2 separate regions of the Homo sapiens genome follow, and region 1 is linked to region 2. The links are contacts of gene promoters, found by promoter capture Hi-C in blood cells and fetal thymus (Javierre and others, 2016). All regions are on one chromosome and are shown on one strand. The core of a region is centred on a gene start or on the middle of the fragment in contact, and the rest is flanking DNA. Distances in the headings are between cores, read along the strand shown. Region 1 holds the start of TOPAZ1 (testis and ovary specific TOPAZ 1). Region 2 overlaps ANO10 (anoctamin 10).

Region 1 (4,890 bases), core at 1,302-3,801, 720 kb after region 2:
GACAGTTATGGGTCATAAAAGTTTCAAATTCCTGGGCCTATAACCAACTTTAACACCATCTGTCCTTAAAGTGGGCCGAAGGCAGTGGGTGCCTGCCAGTGGGCTCCAGGTTCAGACCAGAGGCCGGACTCTTGAATTTTTATCTTTATTTTACTAACATCCTAGTAGCAATGTTTATTTTGAAGGTAGTAAATGTCAGAATTCTATAGAGTCTACCTTTTAATATATATTGAGGCCAGGTCTGGTGGCTCACACCTATAATCCCTGCACTTTGGAAGGCTGAGGTGGGAGAATCACTGTAGGCCAGGAGTTCAAGGCCTGCTTGGGCAACATAGGGAGACTCTATCTCTATTAAAAAAAAAATGAGCTGGGTGTGGTGATGCACACCTGTAGTCCCAGCTACTCCTGAGGCTACGGTGGGAGCATCACTTGGGCCCAGGAGATCAAGGCTGCAGTGAGCTGTGTTCACACCACTGCACTCCTGCCTGGGTGACAGAGTGAGACTCTGACTCAGAGAGAGAGAGTGTGTGTGTGTGTGTGTGTGTGTGTGTGTGTGTGTGTGTGTGTTGAAGTTTTTACTTAACAAATCTATTTAATGTTTATAATCAACTAGGCATTATTCTAACTGCTTTACAAATATTGGCACATCTAATTCTCATGAGAACTCTGAGGACACACTATTTCATTTTACAGATGAGGAAAGTGATATATAAAGTGAGGCATAAAGTGAATGTGGAATGAGCCTGAAGTGCTTATGATAACTTTTTATAAATTCTGCTAGTCTTAAACTGATTTTCCTTTTACTAAGGGTACTTACAAAGAGAAAGAAACAAGGATAATTTCTGTATCTTTTACACCTCTTTTACTTAAGTTCTATTTTATAAAAGCTCCTCAGAATACTTGACCTGAGCTTCTCATCCAAACTGCCATATTAGTCACACTCTATGCATCATACCTACCATTCTTTAATGCATTGTATTCAAATTCACCAGGTCCTTCTTTAAACACACAGAAAGCAAAGATTAATGGAAGGTATCTGCACTTGGTTGGAAGGAAGCTACTAAGGGAGACACACAAGTAAATAGTTGAACTGTGTGTTCGCAGACAGGAAGGAACACTTTACCCCTCAAAGTGCAAGAACAGTTGCAGGAAGGCTTCCTTGATGGGTGATCCTTGCATGAATCTTGAAGGGGAAATATGTAGTTTACCAGGCAGACAAGCAAAGGAAGACTTTCCAGGACTGTCAGGTACAGAAGCACAAGCATAACAAAAGTATATGAAATCTGGGGAACTTCAGGTAGTAGTCCAACGTGGCTTATGGGCAGGCTATGTGTGGTGATAAGAGATAATTTTCAAAAAAGAGAAAATAATGGCTGTCATGGATGAACATGTATTAAAGATTATATTCTCCCATCAGGCAGATTTTATAAACATTGGTTCAAAGGGTAAGTCCAAACAACAAACATTCTAGACCAGGAATGAAGTGAATGTGGAAATGGAGGCAAAACTAGCTTCTTCCACAGTGAAAATGGGAAGTCAATTAAACTTCTATTGGACAGAATTTGGATTTCTATAGACCGTTATTTTGTGTTGCTATCGCTTATCTATAATTTACAGAGTTGTAAAATAACTCCCATAGAATCAGAATCAGATAATTCAGAAGGGTGACTTCTATGTAGTTTTCCATCAAAGCACAACTTTTACCCTACAGTGGCAGTAAGAGAAAACTAGTTAATTTTTCAGAGGCCACATCAGATAGGGTCACAGATACCACACCAGAGTTTGGATTTCTGTTAGTTTTAGTCTTTGAGCAAAAGAAGTTCATGAAGGGTCAAACTGAGAAGTGCTAGGATCTCCTGTCATCGGAGAGGCATGGCCTGGCAAGGAGGTGGACGTTTGACTGGAATAGCTCAAGGATGGATTCAGAGGCTTGATGCAGTAGGTCAGTCAAGAAAGTCTGAGGGCCAGAGCCACGGTAATGGCAAACGGGAGAGTGGCTGACAAACAAAATACAGTCAAGTAGATCTAGTGAAAGTGGATGTGAGGGATGAAGTAGAAAGAAGGTTGTCTCTGATGGTTTCTAGGTTTCTGGCTTAAACAATTAGGCGCATGGTGGCGCATCCACCTATGTGAAAGGAGCAAGCTTGTGAGGAGCGATGAGCTGGTTTGCCCATCTGAGTGTGAGGTGCCTGTGGAATATGGAATATCCGGGTGAATATATCAGGAAGACAGTTAGACAGGGGCTTCTAGGAGACTTGGTGTGGAGTTACAAGCCACTGACAGTGGCCTTTGCGAGCAGCCAAGGCGCGAAGAGCAGCAGCTGGGAGAATGAGCCCTGAACGGTTCCAGGAAGCTCAGCCTAGTGGAAGGGCCAACGGAGGCCTGTTATGTGATGAGCCCCACTACAGTCCCTCGCAATGCAATCGGGCGCGGCCACTGCCTCCCTCGGAGCTCCGCGAGAGGCCCTCCAAAAAGACGCTGGCACGGAACTCGCGGCTCTCCTGCCCGTTGGATCCCGAAGCACCAGTCGGGGCCCCAGACACGAGGCCCCACTTCCGCTTACGCGCCCCACTTCCGCTTCCGGCCCCGGGCTGTGGTGACTGGCGGTGTGGGGTGGGTCAGAGGGCAGTAGGTACCTCCAGGCGGGAGCAGCGTTTGCACCGCGGTGGGTTCCTGCGAGCTGGTGCAGAGGGGCCCCAGCGGGCCGGCCCCGGGGCACATGCGACGACCTCCACCCCTGGGCCCCACGACGGCCTCAGGGCCTGAAGGCAATGTGCGAAACCTGCAGAAGCGGCAGGCGCCAGGGCCAGGCGCGGCGGGAGGCTGTGGCCCTGAGGCCGGGGGGTGCCGGGAAAATAAGCAAAAGAGGAGAATGGTGGCCCGGGCCACCCCTGGGAGAGGCGAGGTGGAAAGTGATAAGTCGGTTGCAGCATCAGGGGCTGGAAAGGCCGCAAGGCGTCAGGTGGAGGGGCGCAGGGGCCCGGTGAGCCCGTCAGACTCGTCAGACCCGCGAGGCCTAGAAGCAGCAAAGGAGGCTGAACTCCCCTTGCAAACGGAAAGACACAGTAAGAAAGCATCCACGATCACTTACCTTTAGCCCTTGTACCTCAGCGTGCTCCATCTTTGTTTTACCACTAGTCTTTAACTTGAACCTGCATGGTTATTTCTGATGCACATAGTTGACCAGGAGATGGGAAAAATGGATTTCCTTAAAAGGGGTGTTCCCTGTTAGGAATCCTTGGTCAGAATTATGATAGGAGGAATTCCTACTTGTGGTCCATTTTGGCTAGTATGAGATGACGATGTTATAAGGGTTATTCAGTTGCCTTAGAATTTATACAGGTTTATATGTAATTCCTTAACAGAAATTAAGGCTTTCATTTAAAAACAAATGTGTATTTACATACAGCTGTTCAGGGAAATAAAAATGATAGCCTCACAATTTTTAATTTCAATGATAATTGCATTTTCCTCCTCAATATAAAATCTTTTCTGATATATTTTGTTGTTTTGATCAGCCAAGGAAAAAAGAAAAGTTACTGAAGCCTCAAGTGATGATCCACAGCCAGGGCTTGACTTGGTAAGAAAGGAATCATTAACCAGTTCGGAATCTTTCCAAACAGTGGAATGCTTGCAGTCTTTGGGTAAGGAAAGTATAATAGAAGGTATTAAAAGAAGAATTCGAAATAAAAAACTTAAAAGCTTAGAAAACCCACCTCTCAAAATAACCGAAAATGAGGCTACACAAAATATTAAGGTTGAATTCCAAGATGAACTGTACAAGAATACTCCAAAATATTCTTGTAATATCTTGTCACCTGAAGTAGAAAATAATTCCGTTTTAAAATTACGTGATTGCAATTGTTTCCCCCATTCCAAGGGTTGTAATGATGAAAACAACCTGCCATATAAACCTGATGGTGGATGTATGCATGTAGCAGAAAATTTCTCAAAGAAAGAAAACCTTAGGAGTCTTGCAGAGAAGAGTGACACAAATAGTATTCCTCAGCTCTTACAAACAGAAGAAAATGTAATGGGAGTAAATAAGTTACTACCAGAAGAGAGTGATTTATACCAAAGTAAAACCAATGGCTTGCTTTCCTGCCTTCAACATGAAAAAAATAAATATTCAATAGAGGAGAGCAGTGTTGGGCGAAAACCCAGGAAAAGGATGAAGTTGTCTGAAAAAGCAGATGAAACAGTTACTGAGATGAACTTCTCTAATGAGTATAACAAGTCTGAGTTGATGTTGCAAGAAAATCAAATGATTGCTGATGGTAAAGAAGCAGAGACTAAAAGTCCTTTAAATGTTTTGAGAAAAGTAAGCCATAATACAGTCTCTTTGATGGATCATTTATTAAGTGTCCCAGAAACAGTAGAAAAAGAAACAAGTTCTGAACATCATGTAAATGCTGTGTTTCAGAAAACCATTGAACCACTTTTGAAAGAAGAAACAGAGAATGCTTCAGAGCCGTTAGGTTATGAAAGCATGGCATCGAAAGAGGATTTTAAATCGATGAAAAGCTTCATAGGGAAATCACCTAATGAGTACCATATTGAAAGGAGATCTTCACGGGAAGACTTAAGAAGTGCATCTGAAGAATTGAAGTTAAGCTGTCAGAGAACAATACCTATGACTGGTAAAAGAACTTGGCCCTATTATTCATGTGCTAGAATATCTGCCTGGTGTTGGAAAAAGGCTTCCTTGCCAGAATCAAGTTACTTTCTTCGTGGGTCTCAGGAAAGTTGTAGGCAAGTTGATGTCCCTAAACACCAAACAAACCAGACCCATTTAACTGACTCCAAATTATTATTACAAAGTTCCTTAACAGAAACAAACACTGAATCTTCAAGTAAAGAAAAATTAGATTCTAATTCTAATTGTTTGTC
Region 2 (4,826 bases), core at 552-3,051:
GAGCTTCATACAACTTTATGCATTAGGGATCTGTCATTTCACTGCAGTTTAATATAGACAACTGTGTTCTGCTCTCTGTCTTTGAAAGTATTGATGCTGGAAATGTAACTGAATCAAGCAGGGTTTTTACTTGCAAGCCACAAATACCAATTCTGGTGTATCTGGGCAAAGAAGAGGTTGGTTAAAAGGTTATCAGGTAGTTCACGTACCCTCTAAAAGGTCTAAAGAACCAGGCTGAGCAGTCATACAGTGAGGAGCAATGTCCAAAGTCATATCTAGAGCTGGTTCAGCAATGATGCCAGGCTGCACACAGGCACAACACCATTGGCATAGCACTGCCACAGCTACTGTCAGCTGAGTGGATTCTGCATGGTACCTGCCTCTTGGGGTCCAAAAGCTTACAGTTCAAAGTTTAGGGTAAAAAATTATTACTGGCTCAATATAGATCATGTGCCCACGTCCATACCCCAGAAGCAAGGGAGGCTGGAAAGGGAGTACCTGCATTATCAGCTTCTATAGTGGGAGGGGGCATCTGCCATGAGGTCAGAGATTCTCTGGACACAGGAAAGAGGTTTATGTGTTCAGTGATAAAACAGGATGACTCATGTATATTACACCAGTCTTTCAGGCAAACCAATATTCAAACCTGTCAACTTAAGCTAAGTATGCCTGAAAAGGGGGTTCTCAGCAGAGGAAACAGCACAGCCTACAATACCAAGTAAGCAAGAGCTCATTCCATTGGAGGAGTCACATGAGCTGAGTATTATTAAAGTGGAGAGAGGAGAGCAGCGGAAAGAGCTGCATGATTTCATGAAGGGCCTCGAAAACTACACTAAAATCTGGGCTTTAATCCTGAAAATGGTAGAGAGGCAGTAAAGGCTTTTAAGGAAGGAGTAAGATCAGATTTCTGTTTCAGAATAATCATTTTAGCAGCAGAATGGATTAGAGAGCACCAAGACTGGGGAGCCTGGATGCCAGTTAAGAACATGCTATGCTGTAGCAACTCAGAAAAGGAATAATGAGGGCTTACCCTAAGGCTACACACAAGGCACTGAGTGGAGAAGAAATGGGTTAGATGAAACAACCACCTGGACAGTAGCTGTTTGAGTGTGAGGAGTGAGGATGACTAACCCCAAGTTCTGGTTATGACTAGATGGATGGTGGTAGATGAACTCAGCTTTGGACTGCTCAATTTGAGATCACTGGGAGACATTCAAGTGAAAGCAACGAAGGTAAATACATACACAATACACATGTAGATGTCCAATGGGCACTGTTAGGCGTAAAGGTAACGCAAGCCATGGAGTAGACAAGCTCACCCAGGGGCTACAGAGGAAGTCATGGGGTAGATGAGCTCATCCAGGGACTACAGTGGAAGCTGTGGAGTAGATGAGCTCATCCAGAGACTAGAGTGTAAGCCATGGAGTAGATGAGCTCATCCAGGGGCTACAGTGGAGGTGGAAGTCATGGGGTAAACAAGCTCACCCAGGGGCCACAGTGGAAGCCATGGGGTAGATAAGCTCACCTAGGGGCTACACCTGGAGTAGATGAGCACAGGGGCTACAGTGGAAGCCACGGAGATGAGCAGATGAGTTTAACCAATGATTGAATGAAGAAGAAGAGGATTGGGAAGGAACCTTAAGAAAGAATAGCCCAGGAAGAAGCTCAGGAACAGGCTTAAGGAGGAATAGCCAAAGAGGTAGGAAGAAAACCAGGAAACGAATCCCTCATAGAAGGAATGACTTTCTAGAATAACTGAGTCATTTGCTTCAAACAAGCATTGTGCTTGGTTGGGGGAAATATTCAAAGAAAATTTTAGGCAACAGTTTTGTCAAGTTTCCAACTCAATTCCTTTTAACTCCCCCTACCCTACCTTTCCCATGTAGATCCTGAGAGCTGTCTATAAGTGGTAATTGCAGCATGCCTGCAACAGTTCCTGCATTTACAGTCCACCCCACAGCAGTAATCTGGCCTGGCCCTAGAGACCAGGAAGGTTTCCTCAAGATGCTTCCTTCCCTCCCCAAGTACCCTGTGCAATGATTATGTGTTGCACAGTTGGGGCAGGTGAGAAAGGGGGAAGGAAAGGGAACATGGATTTACTGATGCAGATGATTCACTGAACTGGGTTTCTAGTCCACCCAACTGCCCACTGGGCTCCTCTTGCCTGTTTCACAGGTACCTTAGACTCAGCGGGACAATGAACACATCTGGGCTCTTCTGCCAAAACACAGATCTCTTCCAGCATCCTTTATCTCAATAACTGGCCCTCCTCCAGTACCCAAGCCAGAAACCTACAGTCACTCATGATATTTCCTCTCCCCTAACACACAGTGTATCCAACACAGCACCAAGAACTCTGAATACTGCTTCCAGTACATGCCTCTCCAGAAGAGTCACTGCCTGTCCTGTTCCAATCTACCAGGATCCTTCCCTAGAACCACTGCAGTTACCACCTAACTCACTGACTCTTCCAACCCCTCTTAAACATTCTCCATGCTGGGTATGAGTGAGAACCATCCTCCAAGTTGAGCAAGACAAGGGTTGTTTTGGTTTTACAAACTGCAAATGTGTTGAGGTCATCACCACAGCCATACTCTTACCCCCCACCGACCAATGACTGCCCAGGGCTCTTAAGTGAGAAAAAGGTATCCTCAATGTGGCCTGTGCAGCCAGGTCATCTGGCCTCTGTGTCCTCTCTAGCCTCACCTCACATTCTTTCCTGCATCTTCATAGCTCTGGGACTCCATGGTCCCTGGGCAGGCTATCCTCTCTGCCCAAAGCATTCCCTCCACAGTCCCTCATCCCCATCTCTCACTTCAGGCTCCATTTTACTGGATACTTCTCCTTAAAAACACCTTTCAGACTCCGGACAAGGTCATGTTCCCCTACTCTAAACTCAATCCTTTTACATCTATCTGCATGACTATCTGGTGCTTTGTGTTCATGCTAGATAAAGCTCCAGTGCCAACAACCATTCCTGCTTCTGCTCAGCCTTAGCACAAGGTGTGAGCACCCAAGTATCTGCTAAGTGAGCACCCCCACGAGGCACAGTTAACCCCATGGTCAGAGGCCAGTGAACTTCCCTTCTCATCACCACAAAGTACTTTCACCATAATTAGTGGGAAGAAGTAATGTAAATGGGATAGAGTTATTAGGCAGGGAAAGATGTTTTGTCTCTCTTCTTTCCTCTTTCTAAGTTCCTAAAATAAGCTTGCAAGTGGTGGTGAAGGGAGCTGATGCATTTTCAAAGAGCGGTGGCCCAGTTTTCAAATTTGTTCCTCTCCATTGTGAGTTTTCCTCCTTCTGTTTTCAATATCAAAATGCCTCAATTTATGAGAAATCTAATGACAGTTGGTCACTTCAAACCTCAGATTTTCTGGAAATCATTCCTTCTAAATCCAAGGGTCTGCTGCCACTGTAGTGTACCAACAACATCGCTCCACTTTGGATTTATTTAGTTGTTTTGCAACAGAGTCATTATTCTATCTTCAAATGACAACATTTAATATATTCTAGCATATTCACATAATATACTTAGAAAGTATTAAGTAAAAAAGTCATTAAATGCAGTACACTTAGAGAAATAAAAGCACTTGAATGATGAAAATGATGAAACCTTAAAAAGGCTGCCAACTTACTTCTTTAGTCAGGGACATGACTAACATATGGACTGTAAAATTACCTTTCCCATTTTAGATTCACTTTCAGAATTAGCAACATGTTAATTGTCCTGTGCAGCCACCAAATCTTTAAATATCTTTATATTTTATTAATCTCTCTAATCAACCATCATTTTGACAAGTTCCTCACTGGATTTAGATATGCAACATGTATGATTATTTTTGTAACACTAGAAACAGGGCCTCTGTGGAGTCTTGTGGCTCTCTGCCAGCCACGGAGAAGCGTCAGCATGCATGCCCACACGGCAACACAGAGGATTAACTGACCAGGGAAACAACTGCTAAAAGAGCACCAGAGTTGGGAAACAATTTCAACATCCTGAGACGATTGAAAATATATCAAGAGAATGTATAGTATAACATATACAGAATTTAAAGAGGCAAAACTAAATGGCAATTGATGTCAGGAAAGTGGTTATTTTGGGTTGGTGGTGACTAGGAAGAGCATGAAGGGGCTTCTGGTAAAACGTCCTATGTCTTATGAATATGTTCACTTCTTGACACTTCATTCAGCCTAACATTCATAACCAGTATCTGTATCTATGCTACACCTTAACAAGCAATTCCTTAAAATATTTTGAATATTTACTTAAGATAGCCTATAAATAATATAGAATATAGCATCTATATTCTTATTTTAGCCCTACTTTAATCAGTAACAGCAGAGGTCCCTTAAGTTCTCTTAGGGTCTAAAATAATCTCTAGTCTACTGGTTGACCTCAACAATAATGAAAAACAGTATATATTTATAAAATACACACATACATATGTGTGTGTATACATATATATACACACACACATATGGTACATACAATGGTACATATATATATATGGTACATACAATGGATGTAAAACACACACACACACACACACACACACAGCATGCTTCTATTTAGTGGCTTGGGGCAAAGTTACACAAGATTTAAATCATAGATTTATGGACTCATCTGTGTAAACTGATTTCTGGGAAAGATTTTCACATTGTGTCCAATGGCTGTTTGTATATTTATACTAATTCTATTTCAAAATGCCCCTTATCCAATTAAACTATTACAACATATCCAGCATGCTCCTTACAGATGACATATTAGAGGTTTACCATTATGTTAACAAGAATAGATTTTGTAATGAACTAGGTATAAATCA

What was found. Contacts are between HindIII fragments. The CHiCAGO score rates a contact against its expected background, and 5 or more counts as called.
Region 1: the fragment with the promoter of TOPAZ1 here is called in contact with a fragment that was not itself captured in region 2 in 4 of 17 cell types (naive B cells, total B cells, activated CD4 T cells and 1 more); the score reaches 7.5 in naive B cells.

The regions. Positions count from the first base shown.
Region 1 is chr3:44,239,335-44,244,224 of GRCh38, forward strand. It overlaps TOPAZ1 (testis and ovary specific TOPAZ 1), which reads left to right and starts at 2,552. Exons shown (of 20, transcript NM_001145030.2): 1 at 2,552-3,065; 2 at 3,519-4,890. The coding sequence starts at 2,720. The HindIII fragment of the contact is 1,559 bases long and covers 2,142-3,700 here.
Region 2 is chr3:43,522,504-43,527,329 of GRCh38, forward strand. The region is part of intron 11 of ANO10 (anoctamin 10); the gene reads right to left. Among named protein-coding and RNA genes, the nearest start is that of ANO10, 97 kb to the right of the region's middle. The HindIII fragment of the contact is 2,813 bases long and covers 396-3,208 here.